Regions from separate parts of the Homo sapiens genome. Here all the other regions are linked to region 5. The links are contacts of gene promoters, found by promoter capture Hi-C in blood cells and fetal thymus (Javierre and others, 2016). All regions are on one chromosome and are shown on one strand. The core of a region is centred on a gene start or on the middle of the fragment in contact, and the rest is flanking DNA. Distances in the headings are between cores, read along the strand shown. Region 1 overlaps PTPRC (protein tyrosine phosphatase receptor type C). Region 2 has its middle 25 kb from the start of PTPRC. Region 3 overlaps LOC105371677 (a long non-coding RNA gene). Region 4 holds the start of PTPRC-AS1 (PTPRC antisense RNA 1). Region 5 holds the start of DENND1B (DENN domain containing 1B). Region 6 overlaps LOC105371677 (a long non-coding RNA gene).

Region 1 (4,013 bases), core at 1,331-3,830, 870 kb after region 5:
ATATTTAAACTCTTAAAAATCATGCAAATGCTGTATTCAGTAGGAAAATGCAACTAGTTGGACTTCCAGTGCCTATTAAAGTTTGAAATCTTTGCACATTTATGGTCTATTCAATGGATAGTTCTTGAGCGGCGTCAATATGAATCATGAGTACATTTCAATAGATTATAGAATGTAACTAATAATTAATATTTAATATTTCTCTTTATGATGTAGTATCTAAAAGGACATTGAAAATAAAATTTTTGTAGAAATTCCAAAAAGTATAAAAAGTATTTTAAAACAACTTGCTTATTACAATTCACTTTGAAGTCTTTTTTTGACTTTTACCGTTCTTCTTTCCTCTGAAAGTCAGGGAAGTAGCTACCTCTTGAGCATGTTACATTGACAATTTCTATTTGGAGAGGAAAGAAAGAGGAAAGAAAAACAACATAAGATTTTTGTTGTTGTTGTTGTGGCTGTTTTGCTTTTTATTGCAAAGGTGAATTTTTTAAAAATCTATATATTTGCAGCATTTGTCTTAGTACAGAAAATGTTTATCAAGTTACCATCCCTTTAAAGCTTATGATAATAAAAAGTAAATTATAAAGAATAATAATCTCAATGAAGTGATATATGTATATTATCACAAATCAGAACAGATTTTCATTTAAAATTCCCACTCAGGAAATGTCGAAAAGCATTTTTAAATGAGCATAAAGAAATACTGAGACATTTTGTAAGCCAGAATATTTTTCTTCTCTTCATATTCATTTAACTTCTATTATTTTCTTCAGGTCTAGCTCCATTGCTTTTTATTCCAGGCAAACTTCCCAACCTCCTGAATAGACCAAATATCCTATTATATGCTTAAATCAGAGTGTGAAATATTTCCTTTGTGAATAAAAATTCAACTCATTCTATTACAGGATGTTTTTTTAACCATAAGACACATCTTTGAATTTATAATTGAAATAATATGATGGGGTCTAGAAACCTTTATATCAACTTTGCTGAATGATTTATACCATAGCAAATAAATGGATATACATAAATTTATTTTGAAAACTCAACTTTATCTTCAGTTGCTCACATAAATATTGAGAGCAAACATTTTTCTAAAAGACATTTGTAGACTCCCTGAGATATATGCTTATTTGTGGAAAAACATATACAGATATAATCATTTGTATCTGCAAATATTGTTTATAATCCTTTCAAGTTGCAAGAAACATTTTGTGATTTAATGTATAATTTGGAAAATTCTTAATGCTTTAAATTATTTATTTTTCTTTTTTAGCAACAAATGAGTTGGATTCTATGTTTCATTTTAACGTGTTAAAATTAGTTTAGTGCCTACAGGAAATAATAAACTTTTGGGGAACAAAATTTATATTGTATGCTGTAAAGGCATAAAGAAATAGAGCCAAATGTAGAGAGCCATCAATGGTAACTCTATGCATAATTCAAATATTTTATTTAATATCTAAAATGCACACACGGACAAGGCCAAAGTTAATCTTTGCCACGGCAACAACCAGGCAGGGTTCAGTTTTACTCAAGACTTCCTAATCCTCTTGCTCTGTGCCTCTTTGCCATGGCAACTGGAAGCCAAACTTTGTTTAGAATTTCTAAATAATGTTAGGGGACAATGATGGTTTTAAGAAGGCAGGTGAAGGTGAGTGTTCTCTGGTTCTAATAAAGTTGTAATGCCAGGCAGATCTACCACACTATAGCATGGCAGTTAGGAGTATATGAGTTATGGTATGTGAGGTATATGATGAGTTTTGTTATGAGTCATAACAGTTAAGACTCATTTCCTGGACATAATTCTTCATTTTTCCATCTGTATTAAAAATATATATCTCATGTTATAAACATGGACTGTGCCTTGCACATCACAGACATTCAATGAAAATTATTTAATTGAATTTGGTAAGCAGTCCTATTAAGTTCTAAATACTCCATAATTTAGAGATTTGGGAATGTGATTAGAATTACTTATTAATTTGAAAAAAAATGTCCTACTAAAAACCTGCCTGTGACCTTTATCATTGCTAAAGTTTGAAATGTACTTTGTTACAGGAAAGACTACGGCTAGGGCCTATATTATCTTTTTCTCTTTTGTTCTGTGTAAGTAAGTATAGGGGCAGAGTAGTTAGCTTGAACTTAGTTCTTTCTTTGTTCTGGACTATTTGCTATCCTCTCACCAGTGACAATTAACCAGTATAGAAATATAGATGTTTCTACATTGTTCATATACTTGAACATATATTTCTTTATGTAGATACTCACACATAAACTAGTTATATATTTGTGGGTTATATATACTAGTCAATCTATCTATCTGTCTATCTATCTATCTATCTATCTATCTATCAGTTCTCCATGTTTGTCTATTTGGCGTTCCCATGAACTTCAGACCTTCGCCTGTGTTCTCTTTTCTCCATTTGGTTACGTATCATTGCCTACTATGTGTTGATCACTCTGATTCTCCATCTCTAGACTCATCCCTCAGAAACACGGAACTTACTACCTTTCCTAAATCCAGACATTAACATGCTCCCCAAGTCCTGAAATTTTGCTTTGTAATAATCTCTAATAACTTCTTGCTTTGACACCTCCATTGCCATCATCTTAATTCATGGCTTTATTATTTCTCACCTGTAAAATTGTAATAGTTTTTTTAATCAGTCTGAAGTCTCATCCTTTTTTTAATGTAATCTACAGCTTAAAAAGTAAAATAAAAAGTGAAGGGTTACTGATTTCTTCTCATTGCCTTTGGTATAAATTCTAATCTTTTTTGCCAGAGAAACTGGTTCCACTAATGATCTGGGGGCTAGGCCTGGAGCTGGGAAGGGATCTTTTTTCTTTTCTTTCTTTCTTCCTTTCTTTCTTTCTTTCTTTCTTTCTTTCTTTCTTTCTTTCTTTCTTTCTTTCTTTCTTTCTTTTTTCTTTCTTTTTCTTCTATGATTGATTAAAAGAAAACAAACAGGAGGTAGTTTTAACACCCACCTCTATACTTTCTCAAGGTGTTTAAGGTTCTGGGCAAATCCTACTTCTTCTATTATGTTCTCTTATGTCACTTTTGCCACAAAATATTTCCATTGAATTGCACACTTTTTATCACCTTTTCTTGGCATTTTTCAAGTCATTTCAATCTGCTCTTTTTTGTGATGATGATTGATGATGATGATGACATGTGAATTAGTGGATTTCTTGACATTGTAACCTACATGAAATCAGGTATAGGAGACACAAAAGGCATAAACTCATAGTTCCCATACCTAATTTTTCACCAGACACTGAATAAATCATAGATTAAAAAAATAAAACTGCATATTGTAGTGACAAAGGAAAGGAAAATTTTCAAAGAGGGAAGTCAAAAAGAGGGAGAATATGAGATAAAAAAATTAACCAGAGGCGAAGTGGGAGGATGAAGACAGCAGGACTATTTTGTCCAGATTAAATTAAGTTGATTTTGGATCTAGATGTTTACAGTCTTGCCTTTTTGTTTTTGTTTGTTTGTTTGTTTGTTTTTTCTTTGCTCCCTTTCTTACTCTCCTTATCTCACCTCTCGTCTGGAAAGAGCCTCCTGACTTCCTAAAAGTTCATAGTTTGAGAATGTTTTTCCTAAATTTTCTTTGATCTGCTCTTTGGACATTCTAGGTAATGTAATTTGGAGGGTCAATTTTATTTTTCAGATACACATACCCATAGGAGAAAAAGCAAGGAATGGGAGGGAAATACAAATGTAGCGGAGTGATAACACAAACAGATCAGGTCCAGTCATGGCAATTGCTGGTTTGAACACTGATGCTAGTGCTCTGGGATTGCTTGCAAGGGCAGATGGAATATGGTGCACCCTAGGTGTTGCATTATTTGCACGACAAAAGTTTGTAGAGAGCTGGGAATAATTTCTTTACAGACAGTGTGGTGATGAATGTCAATCTGAGTAGGTAAGGGGCAGAGATTTGTACTGAGGTTGATTCATTCTCTTGGTAAATACACAATGTTCACAAAGGCAAGGTTTC
Region 2 (3,920 bases), core at 1,277-3,776, 840 kb after region 5:
GGTGCACTGCACCCACTAATCCGTCATCTAGCATTAGGTATATCTCCCGATGCCATCCCTCCCCCCTCCCTCCACCCCACAACAGTCCCCAGAGTGTGATATTCCCGTTCCTGTGTCCATGTGATCTCATTTTCCAGATAGTTTTTGATGATAAAACCTAAGTGAATCTGTTCTTTTTTTTTTTTTTCTATTCATGATCTTTCTTGATTGATTTTATCCTGTGCCCAAACCAAAACAGCACAGCACCATGGCTATGAGAAAGAGGTCTCAGAAAACTGAGTGTCGTTATCTGGCTTTTAAAGTTTGCCCTATCTAGATATGATGCTGTTTCTTTTAGATTTTTTTACACCAACTTTTGTCAGATAGTTTTTGATGATAAAACCTAAATTAATCTGTCCTTTTTTTTCTATTCATGATCTTTCTTGATTGATTTTTATCCTGTGCCCAAACCAAAACAGCACTGTAACTATGAGAAAGAGGACTCAGGAAACTCAGTCAATATCTGGCTAACAAAAGTCTATGCGTGGTTCCTCCTAGCCCTGCTATGACTTTTCCCAAATGTCAAATGTTGTTGATGTCTCGTCTCACAGATTTCCCTGTCTACTTGAGAAAGGCATAAAACCCATTTTATCTTAAAAATGCTCGTAATTGGGATCGCACTTTAAGTATAATGCTTACTTGATTACTAAATTTATTGTCTTTTTCTTAAACTATGTTTTTTAACCTCTCTGCAACATTTAACATCATTAATCATCATTTCTTCTTTGAAACTCAGCTGTTATAGTGGAGAAAAACCTTGGAAATAGTTAGTTCATGTTTCTTGTTTTACAGATGAAGAAACAGTGATCTCGGAATCTGGAAGGACTTGTCTAAGGCTCCACAATTAGGAAGTCTCTAGACATAACTCTCTTGGTTCTCCTGTTCCTTCTCTATTTCCTCCAGAAGCTGCTCTGTACTTGACAAGAAGTAGATATTAGTCAAGATTCATTTCTTTTACTTTTGCTTTCTTTTTTGTTTTTTTTTTTTTTTTTTTTTTTTTTTGGTGGGGGGATATCATCTACTTCCTGGCTTATATGATCAACTTTATATGAATAGGAAAGACCGTGGACTTAGTTGTCAGACAGTCCTGGATTAGAATATTTGATCATTCACTTTGTATAACTTATAAACATGTCACACTGATCTTAGATAAGTTAATGGTCATTTATTTTATTTTATTATTTTTATTTTTTTCAAAATGGAGTTTTGCTCCTTTTGCCTAGGCTAGAGTGCAATGGTATGATCTTGGCTCACTGCAACCTCTGTTTCCTGGGTTCAAGTGATTCTCCCACCTCAGCCTCCCAAGTACCTGGGATTACAGACACGCCCCACTATGCTCAACTAATTTTGTATTTTCAGTAGAGACGGGGTTTCACCATGTCGGCCAAGCTGGTCTCAAACTCCTGACCTCAGGTGATCTGCCCGCCTTGGCCTCCCTAAGTTCTGGGATTACAGGTGTGAGCCACTGAGACTGGCCAGTTAATGGTCATTTAAATGATCTGTGAACCCAAATGGCTTCAGAGATGAAGGAGTTAAGATTGTAACATATGAAAATATTGAACATTAAAAATCAATGACCGAAGCTTTCAATTCAAGAAACTAAAAATAGAATAGCAAATCAAACCAAGATAATGTACAAGAAAGGAAATAAGATTGATAGGAATAAAAAATCAATGAAATATAAATTAAATTTATAAGAGAAAATTAAGAAAACATAGAACCCTGTTATTGGAAGAAATCAATAAATCTCTGGGAAAACAAACGAACAAAAAAAGATGGAATATATAAAATGCCAATACCAGGACTTGAAAGGTGGTATTGTTACTCATCTTGTAAACTTTGAAGAGTTAGTAAAATTATATTAAGAGTAACATTGTGTCAATAAAGTTGTTAATTCGTATTAAATTAATAACTTTTTTGAAAACATGGCTTATCAAAACTACCTCAAGAAGACTTAGAAAGTTTAAAAGTTTTTTTACTTACAAATTGATTTTTTTTTAAAATCAAAAACCTTTGCTCTTCTTCCCCCTCAAAAATCCTCCAGGCCCAAATGCTTTTTGTAATTTTGGGGTTTAGAACATCATACCCCAAAGTATCGTGCCTTGCCATGCTGACTGTCTTTGAGCTCAAGAAAACAAAAGGCCTCAGAAGTGAGGTCTCTCTGACCTTCTTCCATCCTTCTGCCTCCTGCCCCAATTTCTCCCCCAAAGCAAGCCATAAAACCTAGAAAGAACAGTCTATGACCTACTTTTCCTGAAAGTAGGTCATAAGACCCTCCTGTGACAGATGCCCTGCACTGTGCCAAGAAGAAAGAAATGTTGCACAGATAGGCCAAGAAGCCTGAACACACAGGCCTTGCTCAGTTTATTCCCGTTAGAGCATATGTTTTTGTCCAATCATATTTCTATAAAATTACCGGCTTCTTTTATTAGATTTAGCAAAGAAACAGATGGTCTTCCCTGGGTCTTTAGGTTTTCATTTCTGAAGGATCCCATGTCACATAAAACCTTCATTATATATAAATTTCACCTGTGAATCTTGAAATGGGTGAGAAAAACATACAACTTTTTTCTCCTCTACTGTAAGAAGTAACATTCACTTGTATAAACTGTTCTTGGGAACTCAGAAAAGGAAACACTTCCGTTTTATTTTAAGAGGTTAGCATAATCTTTTTTTCTTCTTTTTTTTTTTTTTTTTTTTTTGTGACAGAGTCTTGCTCTGTCACCCAGGCTGGAGTGCAGTGGTGCGATCTCAGCTCACTGGAACCTCTGCCACCCGGGTTCAAGCAATTCTCCTGCCTCAGCCTCCTGAGTAGCTGGGATTATAAGCGTAAGCCACCAGGTTCAGCCAATTTTTGTATTTTTGGTAGAGACAGGGTTTCACCGTGTTGGCCAGACTGGTCTCAAGCTCCTGACCTCAAATGATCCACCTGTCTTGGCCTCCCAAAGTGCTGGGATTACAGGTGTGAGCCACTGTGCCTGGCCTAGCAGGATCTTGTTATCAAAAATTTACTGTTAGCAAATTACAGAAAAAATGCAAAAATACTAAGTAAAATATGAGTACATAAAACTAGTGAAATGTAAAAAGAATAATAGACCTACCTAGTACCATATATTGTGACCAAGTGGACTTTATTCCAAGAATGAAAGGGAAAGTTTACTATTCAAAAACAATCAATGCAATTTTACCACGTAATTTAAAAAAAGAGACAGATAATGAGAGAGAGAAATCCTATAATCATCTCCTCAGGTGCAGGAAAATATAAACACATTTATGATTCAAAAAAAGAAAAACACCTTAGAGAGTTGGGAAGAGAAAGGTAGTTTCTTAATCTGACAAAGAGCTTCTGTAAAAACCTACAGAAGATCCTATAGTAAATGTGATATTATTGAAAGCTTTTTGTCTGTATTTGGGACTGAGAAGTCCAGTGTCATCACTGCTTCCCAACAAGATACTGAAGGCCCATCCTAGTAGACTAATGCAAGAAAAAGAAATAAAAGGCATAAGGCAAAGAATGGCAGAAATATGGCCATGTACATAGAAAATCCAAATTAATCTGCAAATTACTGATATTTGTAAGTGATTTTAGCAGCATTGAATTACAATAGCATGTGGTCATTAAACAAAAATCAATTACGTTTCTTTTTTCCTTTTCTTCTTCTTCTTCTTTTTTTTTTGTTTGTTTATTTGTTTGTTTGTTTGAGATAGAGTTTTGCTCTTGTTGCCCAGGCTGGAGTACAATGCCTGATTTTGGCTCACTGCAACCTCTGCCTCCTGGATTCAAGTGATTCCCCTATCTCAGCCTCCCAAGTAGCTGGGATTACAGGTGTGTTCCACCATACCCAGCTAATTTTGTATTTTTAGTAGAGACATGGTTTCAC
Region 3 (4,089 bases), core at 765-3,264, 690 kb after region 5:
AAGAGAATGCTTTTTTTCACTGAGACTTAATGAAATAACTGTTACATCATATAAATTCATTTCCTTAAGCATATGTGTCAGACTATCAAATCAGTTAAGGAAAAGTCTCATCTTTTTTTCTCTTTGAAATTATGGATGGGCTAGTTTGGTTCCAAATTAAGTGAATTCATAGTGCCATCTAGTGCTTCAAAACAGAATTATCGGAGCAACTGTGGAGATACCTTAAATCAGGCATTGGCTTTAACACATTATCTTCAATTCTATGTTTAAAAGAGTCACCTAGCTGATCCAGGCTAGCATTTTCTTTTTTGGATTATTACAAGTTGATTGGGTATTGAAGTTTTATCACATTTACTGATGTGAGAAGTCATTGATTAAAGTATAGCTTGAAAAGAACCCCCAAAACATAACCAAAAACATATATCCCTTTTATTTTTAAGAGTATTAAGGATGAAACTAACCCACAAATAAAACCAAACGGTGCTTCATAAGATAGATGATGAAAATCACAACCATATATAAATTAAATCTCCTCCCACCCAAACAAGATGAAGTAAAACAGAGGATCGATGTGATTTTATTTCATGTGCTTTTGAAATATACGTTCTCAGAGAGGCTTTAGAACCGAGATACAAAGAGGAAAATGTTCACTGAAGAGAATAAACAACACATAGATGAGAGAATTGTTTCCACCTCAAGTAAACAAACAAACCTCTATTTTCCAAACAGTTTCTGCCTTGATTGCCGTCCATTCCTTTATAAAATGGTGGCAATATTTTCAGAACTTTATGTAAAATTTATGAGGGAAACAGGCATAGTTAAGACACTCTTGATTTGGAACCATTGCTGATCAAGGGACAAAATGTGACATATTTACATATTTTTCTTCAGAATTGAAATAGAATAATGTTTTCTATTTCTCTGCACATTAAAATTTTAAAAGCCCTTGCATGTGTTATTTCATCTCCCAACCACACTGTGCAGTATCATTAGCCTCATTTTAGAGTGGGTAGCCGAATTAGCATTCAAACCCTGTCTCATACCCTCCAATGCACTGACAAAGCTACATGTGCCTTTGCCTTTTTTTTTCCTTAGGGGTTTTTGAGAGCTTAGATCTGAAACAGTAAGAAGAGGAGTAGGGTTAGGAAGTGAGTGTAAGGGGAGGAAGAATTAAATGCATACATAGGGAGAGAGGGTCACTCACACTGCCTGCAAGAGAGGCAAGCAGGGAAAGCCTTATGCAAAGTTTCATACAGAGCGTCATCACCCATGGTGTCAGAGTTATCTAGAGAATGGGACAATAATTACGACTGTTGTAAACAATCCAGCCTTAATGAAATATCCTTAAATACAATATTCAGAAGTATCAAACACTAAATGAGAATTCCTAAAGAGTGGATGAAAATTCAGTACAGAGATCCATTAACGTATTGAGTAGCTTTATATCAATTGCTGCTAGTCATATGTAATCAATTTCTTTTTCCTACCCATTCTTGTTCATTTCAGATAATTCACTTTGGTTTTGATGTTACTAGAGATGCAAAGTTGTATTTTATAAATATTTTTCAGTTAAAAATTGTTTCATAGTATAGGTTTTAAAATGTGATAATAAAGCTTCATTTTGAATAGAGTTTTGCTTTAATCATTGTAGATCAGCCTTAATGTACTCAATTAAAAGTAGTTTTCTCATTATCATAAATGTTCTAATATGCATTTCCACCTATCCCTAATTGCCTATCCTAGGGGAAAGTCCTTTGCCATTGCAGCACTAAGTCACCGTAAATGAAAAAGCATGCTTAAATACTAAAATATTTATGATCTAGTCTACTTGCATTATCAACTCATCACAACTTATTGGTAAGCAATTGCAGTGCCTCTTGGCTAAAAAAGCAATGCCAGAAGTGGTAAGGCTCATGCTGACAGCTGTGTCTGGGCTGTTGCTAGCTACTTCAGTACTCTTTGCCCTTGGCAAAGAACTTAGCGAGAGAACAATAAAACATATTGTTGTAAAACAGTAAAAGGTACCCAGTTTGCCAGTTTGCATATTTCTCTGCAGCTACCCATGATACAGGTAGCTATGGGCAGAGCTTGCAGCTTTGCCAGACTTGCTGGCTTTGAACAAAAGTATTTTGTTTCAGGCCATTCTATTGGGTGGGTTCCTGTGGGTATTTTGAGGAAGACTAGGGAAAGAGGTGTTTGTGTGTTTGTGTGTGTGTGTGTGTGTTTTACTTTGTTTTTACTGTTTTTTAACAACAAATCATGAATTAATTTACCCCATACGAAACCTAAACAAAGGAAAAAAGCCTTTGGGAATCATCTTTGAAAAGAGCTGGCAGCCAGGAGAAAGAAAGAAGTTTGCTACAGCAGTTAGGAGAACATATTTGTTTGACTGAATTTATTTTTTATCATCCACTGTAAGCTTTCATTTGACTTAGCTGTTGTGCTTTGTGCCACAAAGCTAGGTCTGTCCATGTCATGGAGGCCCTCCTTCCTGGAATCTCAGTCCACCAGCACAGTATAAACTTCCATTTACAGTGAACGCGTGGAATACCTTGGCTGTGCTGGCAGAAAAAGGGAGCTGATGCCAAGTGAGCTGCAACCACAAAAAAATCATCCAGAAAAAATTTGCAACTCAGAATGAGCTAATAAAGAAATCTGTTTTTTGATGTTTCTGGAACAAAAGCATGAATTATTTTAAATTTTATTTTATTTTATTTATTTATTTATTTTTTGCTTTCCTGAAAATATCAGCCTTCTGTCTTGTCTAAACTTTTGCAGGGTATTACCAAAAACCATCTTTGGTATTGAACATGTTTAAACTTTATTATCCTCTTGTAAATCTGGCATCTGTGGGTAGATTCCAGAAATCAACCATCTCTGCATCATCTAGAGGACAGCACAGAGCCTTGCATGCAGTATCTGTGGATGGTCATTTGTTGAATGCATGAATTTACAAAACATACTAGCCATTTATAAAAAGATTTTTTGAAATTAAATTAAGGTGAAAACAGTAAAAGATAATGTTATATATTAAACAAGCATCTTCTAGAAGTGGCATAACATAGGTAAATATGTAATTTGTGCAAGTATCAGTGAAAGTACCCAACCAAGTTTCATACCTATGTATCTGTTCTCCCTTAATTATATTTTAGTTTTTCTGTGGGCCATCAAAAACAGCCAACTTTCTCTATTTTTAAAAAATATAATTTTAAAAAATTATTCTCTTTGTTACAAAATGAAAGTCCAATCTAAAAGCAGATAATGACTTTGAAAGGAAATAAAAATTAACATTGGTTTAAGTCTAACTATGTTCAAGGAACTTAATTTTGTGTGTGCTTGTATTGTCTATAAATTGGCATGCAATGATGAAACAGCAAATTCAAATTAATTAGTACATGGACTTCTTTAACTATAGCTGCTGTAAGTGTAGGAAACATTTGATTGTATAAAAAAGTAGATAATTGCAGGCTTGCTTTTTTTTCTTCTTGCCTCCCTCTCTCTTTTTTAAATAGAGATTTAAGAGAACAGAAGTTTTTCTCCTATCAAAATTCATGGCAGCATATAAAATCCTGCTCAAAATAGTCATGTGTGATGAGGTGATTCCCAGTGCATGTTTGGAAGGATGTTCCATCTTCTCAGGTACCATATTTGCACAGATCTATGTTGCTAAAGCTATGGAAATATCATAGTTGAAGAACGTTGATAATTGCAGACTGAAGAATTGACAGCACTCTGTAATTAACACATTCAGTTCAGGTAGGCATAGATACCCAGTTGAGAACAACCACCACAGGACGTTGTCTAGCATAAAATACATAGCAGAACTCATGTATGGATACACGCACATGTGCACACACACAAACAAATAAGCTACAAAAGAGGAGCTAGACAACCAAGACCAAAACATTTTTTTAGATGTATCTGGCTAAGGTTTTCATGTCATTGAGTAAGAACTGACATCTAAGAATAGTACTACAATACAGTTTATACCTAGACAGTTAAAATACAACTATTATTTGGTTGGCATGTGTTATGGACTTAATGTTTGTGTCTCCCCAGAGTTCATATGTTGAAATCCTGTCTACCAAT
Region 4 (4,016 bases), core at 438-2,937, 890 kb after region 5:
AAAAAAAAAGAGAGATGTAGGGAGCATTGTGGACATCTATTCATGGAGGGTTAAACAATAGAATTAGACAACCATGTGTATGTGTGGAATCATGTGTTTTTTCCACACATGTAGGAAGGAGAAGGTAGGAACAATGAAAAGATTCTTTTAGTGATCATAGTGGCTCCAAAACAGATGCTTTGGTATATGTAATACCCATTTATCTTATAAAGAAAATAAAGAAATAATAAAAGCATTTGCTAACCATGTTAGATGCTATAGTAAATGTAAAAATAAAGGGTCTGTTAATCTATTAACTGAGCTTAATATATGATGTGATATAACAGCAGCCTTCAAATATGCGGAGGGCTATAACAGAGATCATGATGAACAGACTTTTATTCTGGCTTAGAAAGACTAGACACAGAAATTAAAGGCATAAATTACTCTACAAGCAAAGCAATCTTAACATAACACTCCTTTCAAGGTAGACTATGAATATTTCCACCAATAATATATTTATTAAAATAGATTCCTTTTCATTTGTCTTTTTAAGTTAAACATAATCTTGCTTGAATGAGGATGAGTATAAGATACCTCAGTCATGACCTTGTAGATCACTGCATCAGCCAGCTTTGTATTCAGCTATCAAACAAAATAAAATGTGATCACTAGTGGTTCAAATACATTGGAGTTCTACAACTAAAGATCTAAAGGAATGAAATCCATGACTAGTACAAAGACATAATAATGCCCTAAGCAACTTACGATATTTTGATGTTTCTTTTCTGACACCCCATTCGATAGGCTTTTGTCTTCATGCTCAGCATCTCCTATCTCATTTGGGATGCTATGCGTCCACACCTTTCATCACATTCCAGCAAAAAGAAAGGGAAGGCAAAGTGGTAATATATTTTTCCTAGTGAGGTTTTGCCTCTTTATTCAGGGATGGAAACCTTCCCCAGAAGCTTTTGTCTACACTTATTGGCCAGAAATTTAACATATAACCATTCATTGCTGTCAGAGGTGGGAAGGAGTCCCTGAGAAAGAAATTATTCTTGTTTTCCAGCCTCTATTGTAGCATTTAACAAGGAAGAATGGGATTATGAATAGCTTTGGAATGTTTATCATGTCTTCTAGTTGCCATAGCTCATAGTCATTTTATATGATTGAATCTATATTAGGCCTTTTATCTGACAAGTTTCCCAATGTACAAAGACTGAAAAAAAATAATTTTCCTCAGATGGGAATAAAGAATGTCAACTGGTCTGGCCAAGTGAGTTTGGAAAGCTAAGATTTAGCCTTGGGTGCATTATTGATGGACAATAAAGGAGTAGGTGGCACTCATCCATTCATTCAGTTATTCTAGCTGTGCTATTGAATACTTGCTAACTGCAAAGCACAGAGCTAGATCCTAGTAAGAATATAGAAAAGAAAGTCACAGTCTCTGCCTTGAAAACATATTTATTTTATTTCTAGGACAAGACATCTACACATATACAAACTGTCAATTCATAACATGTCATGGAAACATAAAAGAAGGTATCAGTGAAAGTGGAGTGTTTAAGGAAATTTCCATGCAGTTGATAGAATTTTAATCCTATAATTTCAATAGGTAGTAGCTGTGTCTCAGGCATTCTAGGCAGTGCACAGCAAGAGAAAAGATTGAGATAAAGATAAAAACTGGAAAGAAGTAGGCAATCAGTCATATTTCTGCAAAGCAATGTTAGAAAATTGCATGTGTTAGCTTGTATACACAACTTAGCTTACAATGTTAGCTTGTAGCTAACTGAATACAGATGTGAGAGTTAAAATATACTCTCCTAACAGTAGAATAATGATTGTTAGAGTGGCAGGGATGATCTTATAGAAATAAACATTGGACAACCAGCAAAAACAGTGAAAGCCAGCCATATGGCTATCTGGAGGAAGAGCATTCCAGCTACTCAAATCCAAAGTGGTATCATGGTGTGATGTCTTTTTTTTTATTTTTGTTTTAGAGACAGGGTCTCACTATATTCCCCAGGCTGGTTTCAAACTCCTGAGCTCCTGTGATTCTCCTGCCTCAGCCTCCTGAGTATAGTCACATGCCACCATGCCCAGCTAAGTTATATATAAACATAAGCACAGAGTAACATGGTAGCAAAAAATAATGTCACCCAAATTAGGGTTTTGAAGACAATACAGGAGTTAGATAGATAAAGAAGAGAGGGAAGGGCATAACACAAAGGAACAGGAAGTATTAAAATGTGCGTGTTATGGACTTGCATACAAATTGAGTGCTTTAATTTTGCCAAGCATCTTTCATAACACTATAAGGAATTAACAGTATGAGATAGCATAAGTAAGGGGGCCTGAGAACTTACATAAACACCCTTGGTACATGGAAAGTAAATATAAAATGGTGCTGATAATTCTAATTACATAGTTTATAGAAAAGATACATGACCAAGCTTGAAGCAAGAATGATTGATAAGGAATTAGGTAGGTTCTGTATAAGGAAAGGTGATTTCAGATCCCAAAAGGGCATGGCTGAATGTTTAGCCTTTCAGAGTTGGGGAATCCATTTCTTCCTGTGGAAGGATTAGTCTTTAGGTGAATAGATATGTATCGAAGGGAAATTAAGAGAGCATAAGAAAACCCCACTTTACCTGCCATCTATCCATGGAAGCAGCAATAAGACCACCTGAGAGCTATGGTACAATTAAATTGAAGATATTTGAACACATAAAGTAGGTGTAATGTAACATATAGGCTCAAACATTTGAAAGTGATGATATTTGGTCATTGCTGGCCTACAAAAGAAATGATTTTATGTGATTCAGTCTAATGGTAATAGTTACAAAGGATTGACTTCTTCGCAAATAAAATGGTTGAAATAGTACCCAAAACTAGCAGATTGGGCAAAAATTACAAAGAAATATCTAAGTGGTTGCATAGTAACCACAAAAATGAACACACTTATTTTCAGAGTTCAAACCGTGGTAGATTTGAGAGTATGTTTGGAAATGACTAATGCTTAGTGTTGTTTACCCTGTCACCACATTCCTGCATAAGGCTCTTTATCTCTGACTGGTCATGCTCACATCTGTTTTCTGCCAGCCTTTTCTGGTGCCCGCAGGCACCCACCTGCACCCAATGTCCTCCTTTTATGCTTTCTGGCCTCCTTTCATGTACTGTGTGGTCCACCATACTACCTAATCTGCTATATACTCACAAAACTATTTACTTCTTTTGAAAAAAATGTATTATTAGATTTAAATATATGTATTTATATTTCCCTTCACTTTTTAAAGTTTTCACTTTATTTTTATACTATGTTTTAAGCTTCCCTAATATCCCACTGCTGAATCCCACCGACATGGAATCCACGGCATGGTGAATCCCTGACTTACCCATTCCTACTAGAAGTAGAGCCAGAATCTAATCCAGACCTCCTGCCAGCCACTCCCAGACCCCTTCTTTCCCCCAAAGAAAATGAAGAACATATTTTTTGTGCAAAGAGATACAATCAGGAAATTTTTTTAAAATCAGCTTTTATTTTAACTGAATAGCTTACTTAGTCCTGGGGCTGTAAAGTCAACTGAATGATGGAGTCATTTTTTTCAAAATGCGACATCTTCTTACCCACTTCTCTTATTACTCTCATCATTATGAAAATCACATTTGTGAAAGGAAATGAATTTATATCAGGTTTTCTTTGGCATCACCCAAAGGACCTTAGTAAAGAAAATTAATACTAATTTTATTTTCTATTGTGAGCACCTTAATACGGAACTGTAAGAATAATTACTATTTTTAATGCCAAATGAAGCATGTAAGTATTACTAGCTTCTTTTTTGTATTAACTTCTATACTTATCTCAGGAGTTTTTATAGTGATATAGACATTTTGTGAAATAGATCATGAGTGAAACATAGACCTGGTATAGCTTGACTGGGGCCTACTTTACAGATTTGTCCTTAAGTACTGAATATAAATGTTTCTGCTTCTTATTTTCCTTAGCATTTTTAAAGAAAGTCCTGGAAGCCAAAAAT
Region 5 (3,972 bases), core at 1,273-3,772:
TTCCTATGACAAATAAACATCTCCATGAAACTTGTATTTTCTTAATTCTAAAACTAATCTTGTTTTTGTCTCAATACATTTCACGTGACTGTATTACTACAGTATAGTAGAAATAACAATGAAACTGTTTTCTCAATTGAGCAACTTAAAAGAGCTGAGACTTAGGAATTCTGAAACTTGGGGCAAAGCATTTAAACGCTGAGACTGTTCTCCCTTACCTATGAGGTGCCTTGTCCACTTCACAGAATAATAGTGAGGATTATAAATCAAATAACATATGTGCAAGTACTTCATTAAGTACTAAGTGCTACAAAAATGCAAAGTATTGGTTTTATCTTATTGGATCAAATTTAAAAGCCAGAGTGTCCCTAAGTGTCATTATACCCTGCCAACAGAGTTTGACACAGGTTCTCAGGCTGTCTCCAAAGGACTTGCAATATAAGTGTAAATGATGAATACATGGTTCCACCTGCCAAGTTCTAGATCACCATAAAACATTGATAATGCTCCATGAATGTGATACGTTGCATATACTTTTCTTAAAATGTATTTACTGTACTTATGCATATTTAAAGTAGCAAACTATTCATAGCTCTAAGGCTAGCAACATAAAAAGCCTTCTTTTTATCCATTATCTTTGGAGAAACCAGCCATCTGCTTCCATGTTAGATTTTCCCACTAGAAACTGTAAGTTTACTTTGCTTAATTCAGAAGTTATTGACTTTTTTACTAACTTGCCATATTTGCAAAATTTCAAAGCAACATTGGTTAAATTTCAAAAAGTGAACTGAAATATACTGAGACACTTTTTCTTCATAACATTGCTGTTTAAATCTCTCGTTCCATCATAAGGTAAAAGATTAAGTCTGTTACCACAACGGCCAATGTGTTAATATCTCAGTTATTCCTGCTAACAAGACCTTAGTGCCTTTGTACATTGGCTGTATTTAATATGTACTTCCTTCAAGAAACGAATGCCAGCTCTGACTTTAAAAAAAAGCATTTCTTTTTTTGGAAGCTTTTCTTATAAGATATGAATCTGGAAACATAGGAAGTGACAAGACATATAAATTAACATGCAAATATACATTTTTTTAGCCTTTCCGCTATTAACTTGTTTCAATGGGAATAATCTGGGCTCAGATGACTTCCTCCCTCTTAAAACAATTAATGTCAAGAAGCATACTATTTTTACTCACTTACCCTGCCCACCATGATGTCAAACACACTGAAGAAAATAATTCTATTACATAATTTCCCTCTTTCCCTAATATTCTTTAGAATTTCTCTTAGGTGTAAAAGTTAAATATTGACTCAGTTTTACTTCTGTGAAATTCAAACGGCCTTTCACAATAATACAAATATACATGGCATTATTTTAAACTTTTTGAGAAGGAGATAGTAAAGGGTGGGTAAGCGAAGTAAAAAGGAATTCTTTCCAAAGTTAAGTTTCAGAAGAAAAATATAAAACTCATGCCTCTAAGATACCTAGAAACAAAATCACCACCGTTATTAAAATTGCTTTTTACCTAATCTCCTGAGCAAAGTAGTCGTTGATAAATACTTTAGCACACACATAAAAGTACCCTCTAATTGGATACCGTTTTGCAAGAACCATGCATCTACAGTTGCTGCATAAAGAAACACCAGAGACCAATCTAATTTTATAAGCAGAATCATAAGAAAACATCCAAGACAAAAGTAACAAACGGACTTAAGAAAACACCGGTTATATTTAATGCTCAGAGAGCACTCGGAATAATAACCTCTTAACCTCAACGCTGACTCCCTCCCGGACACCACACGCACACAGGCAGCCCCAGGAGAGTCACATCTGACACACTCGGGGGAAGCACGAGAACCCCTCAGCGGCGGTGTCAGGGGCCGCCCGGCCTCCCCTGTCCCCCGAAAGGCGGGCGTCGACAAGGCGCTAGTGGCCTCTCCGGGAGGAGCCGCGCCAACCACGGAGGGCCGGGGACGCAGGGCGGGCAGGCTTTGCGGCCTAGCGCCGTCCCGCCGGCCGGCCAGAGGCTTGGGGGCCGGACCGCACCCCCAGCCCGCCCGGCCAACCTCGGCCGCCCGGGGAGCCGGTTGAGCGCGGAGGCGCGGAGGAGCCGAGCTGGCCTGGGAGGGGCCGCCGAGGGACGCCCGCCCCCGACGCGCCCGGGCCCCCCCACTCACTTGGTCCTGCAGTCCATGGTTACATGTCGGTGTGGGGCTGTCCGTCCGGCCCCCGCGCGCTGGCCTGGAAGCCCGCAGCCCGGCCGCGCGAGGGTCGCGCCGTCCCCGCCCACGCCGGCGGCCACACAGGGAAAGAGGCTGCTCACAGCAGCCGTGGCGGCGGGCCCATGTCGGCTGCGCCCCCGGCACTTCCCCGCCTCCCACCCCACCCACCAGAGCCTTTCTGTGACAGCAGCGGTGGCGTGGCCGCCGCCCCCGTCTCCGCCGGTAGCCGCCACCAAAGCTGAGGCCTCTCAGTTCCTGCGACCGGGGCCGCCCGCTGCGGCTCCTGCACCTTCTTGCAAATCAGGAAGTCGCCGGGAGGGGGAAGGGGCGCGCGGGGACGCGCCCAGCGGCTTCACCTGGGCCGTGCGGCTCGCAAGTCGGAGACTGTGGAGGAGGCGGGGGCCAGGTCCCCGCGCCCGGGCGGCCAGAGGGTGCAGGGGGAGCGCTAGTGCCTGCTGGGATGGCCCACGTACCGCTTTGCCACCTAGCCAGAAAGGCAAGGTGCCCCCTGTGTCCTCAGCATGAACCAAACCGGCTTCCTTTCTGGGTCCAGTCCAGATTCCAGGGCGTCGGGGCTGCAACCCCACAAAGGGCGAAGTACCTGGAAAAGTACCTCGACCTGCAGTGTTTTCCACACACATACACACGGACTTGGGTTCCTTTCATTTCATACTACAAATTCAGAGCTCAAGTTGATGCCCCTGGCTCTTGCGTCACTCCAGCTGTGGCCTGCTTACAGCTCTCTGAAATCCAGAGCTACCCCCTCCTGATTCAGGAATGTTCAGACATGTGCACCTGCTAAATAGCCCTGTCAAGTAGCCAAATGGTAGTGCCCCACTTGTCTGCGCATGTGGGAGGCAGACATTCCTATACCACAGACTGCAGTGATAACCAAGGACTAACTTTTGAACACATGTACATAGTCGCAGGCCTCATAGTCTGGCAGTTTAGGCGAGTTCAGAGAGGGCACCACTGAATAAGCGTGGGAGGGACTGATTTACACAGCCCTAAAGCACATGTGAAGCAGGTTATGTGCACTCTCACCCAGTACTTGTCATAGGTGTGTGATAGATACTTTCATCAGCATTTTACAGATGAAGAAACCAGGGAGTAATGGCAAAGCTGGAGTTCACACCAGGTCTATCTGATGCTGATTATTTACTTCTACCTCATATTGCCTGTCTCCCTCCTCTGCTGTCTCATATTTAGGATCTACTGAGAAGACAGGTAGAAAAGTCTTATGATGGACATTCAAATGACTGTGGAAGGCCAGGCTCTTACACAGAGATCTTCTGGGAAAGGCCTTCTCCCAGCTAACACTGCCACCCTTGACACATAGCCACAGTGTTTCTTCCAAAAGGTGGTTACTTCAGACTTTATTCATGCAGAAGTTAAGATGATGAGAGGAAACCAAATGTGGTATGAATGTAGTGTGAGTCATAAGACATAAAAGTCAGAAAAGGAGTCTTAAGAATTAAAAAACTCAAGAGTCAGAGAACCTGAAGTTGCACTCAGTTATATAACCTTAAACTTTCTTGCCAAAATTGGGTACTACTTGGTCAACAGGATCAGAAATATTGTATAGCCATGGGCCTGTTAGTAAAAAATGAGGACGGGCCATAACTGGGAAACAAACAAACAAAAAAAAAATGTGTTTATCATAAAGTGTTGTCATAGCTTGACTCGGGGTGAGACACTTCAGTTTCTCGGTTCCTACATTTGTAAAATGGGAATTATTACTTGTAC
Region 6 (4,120 bases), core at 1,061-3,560, 720 kb after region 5:
TCCTGGTTCCCAAGTGCACAGAGATGCCTGGGTCTGGAGCCAGCATGGCGGCTGTAGCTGCGCTGGGGAGCTCCCGCCCTGCGAACTTGGAAGCGGCAGAGCTACCGGCTCCATGGAGCCTGCAGCCCCAGCCGTGCCTCCTTGCTGCCTGGGGCAGGGGCTCCATGTCCTCGCTGGTCCCTTCTCTGCCTGTTCCTCTGTGCCAGACCAAGCTGCTGTCCCGCCGGTGGGTGGCTCGGCCCAGCCCCAACATGGCAGCTCTCAGGGCAGCAGGATCTCAGGGGTGACCTCCGGTGACTGTCTACCTCCTCCCTGCACCCTCCCCACAGCAGTGGCAGGCAAGAGTGGTGTCATGGGGCCAGGGTCCAAAGAGGCAGAGGCTCCGGTTCTGGGAGAGGGTCCCCCTGGCCACACGAGGGTTGGGATGGCGCAGGTGGATGCCTCAGGGACAGAGGGCACAGGGGTTCCAGTGCTGCCACTGCTGCTCTCACACCTGGTCCTGCTGCCACGGCCTACGCCTCCCCACTGCAGTCGGTGTGATGGCAGTGGCCACTTTGAATGGCCCGCCGCTGCCATAAAGATGTACTGGTAAAAGAAAACTTCCTATGATTTGGTTCCTGTAGAAATGCTAACAATGAGGTTCACAGTGAAAGGCTAAGATTTATTCTTTTTACCAATGGGAAAAAGGGGCCCATTTAATGGATAAGGGTAGTGAACCAAAGGAAGAGAGATGGTAAACAAAGTGAAAGATTTCTTCTTCTCTAACATTAATGTCTTAAAAACTTAGAAACTTGGCAGAAATCTATAGAAGATGAGCAAATTACTGATAAAAAAAGGATGGTATTAGAAATACATAACCCAGAAATCAGAAGTCTTGCTCATTTTTTCATGATACCAGAGAATAGTGATAGAGAATGCGATGCTGTAAAATATGAAGATAGAAAACATTCTAAAAAGGAGGAAAGTTGACCATAAAGAACAAAATAAATATGAATAGCTGCTGAAATGATTGATAGTGTGGATGGATTTAAAACACTCAATGTATAAATTGTATTAAAAATAGTAAAATGAGATAAGCTTTTGTAAGACAAGGTTAAGGTGACATATGGAGATAAAAAATTTGAACAAGGATAAAAGCACAGCTTTCAGACATCCTTAAGTATTTGTGGTGGTCGGTTTATAGGATTAAAGCTGACAGATTAGGAAAGAGAAGTTGTGAATAATGTCTTTAGAACGTTGCTCCAGAGAGAGAAAAGGTGCTCAGAGAGAGGAAAGAATGTGGGTTAATGCCACATGAAAGCCTGGAGAAGCCAATGCATTAACAGCAGACTGGTCTGGAAGTAAGGACCATGGTGGGATTGATGGAGTGGGAATGTTCTCTGGTCCAAAGTTCTCACTTTAGATTCTATGCACTTTTAAGCACCTATGCGGAAAATTTTGGTTTCTTGTTTCAGTGACAAGTAAATAGGGAAAGGTGAAATAATTCATCCAATTGATAAAGACTATAGTACTTATAAAAGATGATATAGAGAATTTAAAATTGGATGTCGATGACATGACAAAATATTAGTTTTCAGTTTTCAATTGGATCTTGTTTATAAAATTTTTACCAAAAAGAGCTAACAAAATGACATGGCCTAACCTAGACATTTATTCTGTTTTCTGGTTTTACATACCTCCCATCCCTTTTATTAGCAAATTCCTCCTTAACCTTTGAGGTCTGCTCAATTGCTACCTTCCTGGAGATGCCTTTCCCCTCTTGCTGCCGTGTCTCCACCTCTCCACTGCTGCAGCACTGCATCCACAGCGTTCCTATACTTCCATCATATTGTGGTACCATTTTCCATTCCCATGCTGGTTTCACATTTGATGAAGAATTTTTCAAGATAGGTAGACATGTTGTATTTTCTTGTTTATGTTTTTAATTCCAGCTCCTAGACTGGGTTCTAATTATCGTTGGTGTTTAATACTTGTTAACTGAATGAATAATTGTAAGAGAAATCATGAGCTTTGTGAAGAAGAATGCTTAAGAGATATTTATTTTATTTGCGGTTAGACAACTAAGGATGAGTCATACCAAATCAGCTTTTTTTTATGTTTTAATTTTTTTTTTTTTTTTTAAGCCATGGTCTTGCTCTTGCTCAGGCTGCAGTGCAGGTTTGACCTCCTGGGTTCAAGTGATCCTTCCACCTAAGCCTCCCTAGTACTACAGGTGTAGGCCACTGAGCCCAGCTTATTTTTTATTTTTTGCAGGGATGGCATCTCACCATGTTGCCCAGGCTGATCTTGGACTCCTGTACTCAAGCAATCTCCCTGCCTTGGCCTCCCAAACTGCTGGGATTACAAGCATGAGCCACCATGCCCAGAGTCCAAGTCAGCTTTGACAACCCCAGCTGCTGGCATAGGCACAGGAATTTTCCGTGATCCAGAGCAGCCAAGGTAGAATCTGGAGCTTTTGTAACTATGGCATCTTAGCATCTGTGGAATACATGAGTCCTGATAGGGGTTGTTAACTCCTAGTGGGCGTAGGTGAATCTTTGGGTATAAAGTACGTCCTGGGGCAACTATATGCCTCTGAGTATGGCTTTTCTTTAGTTCTCAAAATATGTGACAGTTCAATTCCTCGACACTTATTCTGGTTTCTGGTTACAATTTTGTTTTTTATTTGTCCCAAAATTACTCTAAGCCCTGGACTGTCTGCCTTGTGTTTGCTCTGAGCCCTAGACTGTCTGCTTTGTCTTTGTTGCCTCTTCACTGTGTCCACATACATACACATGCATACATACACATACACATACACATACACATACACATACACATACACATACACAAATGAGTTACTGCTTTATTCAGTCCTCACAGACAGAGCCCTGGGAGCATGACAGCTAGTGCCCAGAATCTCCAGCTGCCACCCTCCACTGAGCAGATTAGATTTTCAGAATCTAACTTCTCATCATGACCTCTGCTACTGCTGGTACCCTCATCCTTGCTGCCACCATCATCTCTTGCCGATAGCCTCCCAAGATTTCTACCAATAACTGTCCTTATCATGCTTTAGTTTATTTTCAATAGAGCAAAGTGATCCTTTGAACACTGAAATCAGACCATTTCACTCTTCTACTTAGATCGGATGACTCATCAGTTTATTCAGTGTGAAAGCCAAATTTCCTACCATGGGCTACATGCTGTAGTTTTATTTTTGAATGTCTCTCCTGCTAATCTCCCACTTCTCACTCTACTTCTACTTTTCTGACCTGTTTCTGTTCCTCAATCACACTAGGCATGCTCCCGCCTCAGGGCCTTTGCTTAAGTTGTTTCCTCTTCCTGAAAGCTCTTGTGTAGGCATGAGGGAGCTTAGAAGAATCCCAAATCTTCATGGCACATAAAAACAAAGATTTATATTTTGCCAAAGTTTCACCACCAATAGCTTTCCAAATTGTGCTAGGATTGTACCCAGGCCAAAGGATGAGCCCTTATCTGGACATTAAAAATCTAGTGGCAGATAAAAAGGAAATGTGGGAAAACATGAAAGAATGTGGCTCTTAAAGCTTCTTGGAAATGGATACATCATCCCAATCACATTTCTTTAGCTAAAAAAGTTGTGGGCAGGAATTTATGTCAATTGGTCAGGAATTTATAATCTCAAAAAGAGAGGCATGATATGTTTTAGACAAAATTGCAATCTATCATATGCCAAAAATCGCCTTGACCTCCTCTTCTTCAAGTTTTGCATGAATGTCACCTACACAATGAGGCCAACCATACTGAATAATACATCCTGCTCTACAACTTCTAGGAATTCTCATAACATTCATCACCTTCTAACTTGAAAATATAACTTAGTTTTTTACATTTTTTAAAACCTTGTCTTGTCTTCCTGCTAGAATATAAACTCAATGAGGTGAGGGATCTGGGACTGTTTTCCACTGTTGTATCTCAAGTAACTATGATCAAATACCTGGCAATATCTGTGGAATTAGTAAAGGAATAGATTTGAATATGAATATGACTGCTAAACTTAGATTGTCTTCAGTTTGTGGAGCCTGTTGGGATATGAAAATTTATGCCTGTGGCTGCATTTCCAAACAAAAAGTTACAGAAAAAGGAAAATTGCAAGAAA

The links. Contacts are between HindIII fragments. The CHiCAGO score rates a contact against its expected background, and 5 or more counts as called.
Region 1: a contact is called between a fragment that was not itself captured here and the fragment with the promoter of DENND1B in region 5, in 1 of 17 cell types (M2 macrophages). The highest score is 5.9, in M2 macrophages.
Region 2: a contact is called between a fragment that was not itself captured here and the fragment with the promoter of DENND1B in region 5, in 1 of 17 cell types (fetal thymus). The highest score is 5.4, in fetal thymus.
Region 3: a fragment that was not itself captured here is called in contact with the fragment with the promoter of DENND1B in region 5 in 1 of 17 cell types (M2 macrophages); the score reaches 8.1 in M2 macrophages.
Region 4: a contact is called between a fragment that was not itself captured here and the fragment with the promoter of DENND1B in region 5, in 2 of 17 cell types (erythroblasts and M2 macrophages). The highest score is 5.6, in erythroblasts.
Region 6: a fragment that was not itself captured here is called in contact with the fragment with the promoter of DENND1B in region 5 in 1 of 17 cell types (M0 macrophages); the score reaches 5.4 in M0 macrophages.

Annotation. Positions count from the first base shown.
Region 1 is chr1:198,640,042-198,644,054 of GRCh38, forward strand. All of the region lies in intron 2 of PTPRC (protein tyrosine phosphatase receptor type C), which reads left to right. Among named protein-coding and RNA genes, the nearest start is that of PTPRC, 3.0 kb to the left of the region's middle. The HindIII fragment of the contact is 4,043 bases long and covers 560-4,013 here.
Region 2 is chr1:198,612,130-198,616,049 of GRCh38, forward strand. No RefSeq gene overlaps it. Among named protein-coding and RNA genes, the nearest start is that of PTPRC, 25 kb to the right of the region's middle. The HindIII fragment of the contact is 1,812 bases long and covers 1,621-3,432 here.
Region 3 is chr1:198,465,576-198,469,664 of GRCh38, forward strand. The region is part of intron 1 of LOC105371677 (a long non-coding RNA gene); the gene reads right to left. Among named protein-coding and RNA genes, the nearest start is that of ATP6V1G3, 73 kb to the right of the region's middle. The HindIII fragment of the contact is 805 bases long and covers 1,613-2,417 here.
Region 4 is chr1:198,666,252-198,670,267 of GRCh38, forward strand. All of the region lies in intron 2 of PTPRC (protein tyrosine phosphatase receptor type C), which reads left to right. PTPRC-AS1 (PTPRC antisense RNA 1) reads right to left here and starts at 891. Exons shown (of 3, transcript NR_199042.1): 1 at 748-891. RefSeq lists an enhancer at 2,513-3,712. The HindIII fragment of the contact is 1,485 bases long and covers 946-2,430 here.
Region 5 is chr1:197,772,958-197,776,929 of GRCh38, forward strand. It overlaps DENND1B (DENN domain containing 1B), which reads right to left and starts at 2,523. Exons shown (of 23, transcript NM_001195215.2): 1 at 2,182-2,523. The coding sequence starts at 2,198. RefSeq lists silencers at 1,871-2,380, 2,531-2,730, 3,022-3,316 and an enhancer at 3,691-3,740. The HindIII fragment of the contact is 6,146 bases long and covers 1,017-3,972 here.
Region 6 is chr1:198,494,596-198,498,715 of GRCh38, forward strand. The region is part of intron 1 of LOC105371677 (a long non-coding RNA gene); the gene reads right to left. Among named protein-coding and RNA genes, the nearest start is that of ATP6V1G3, 44 kb to the right of the region's middle. The HindIII fragment of the contact is 2,471 bases long and covers 1,076-3,546 here.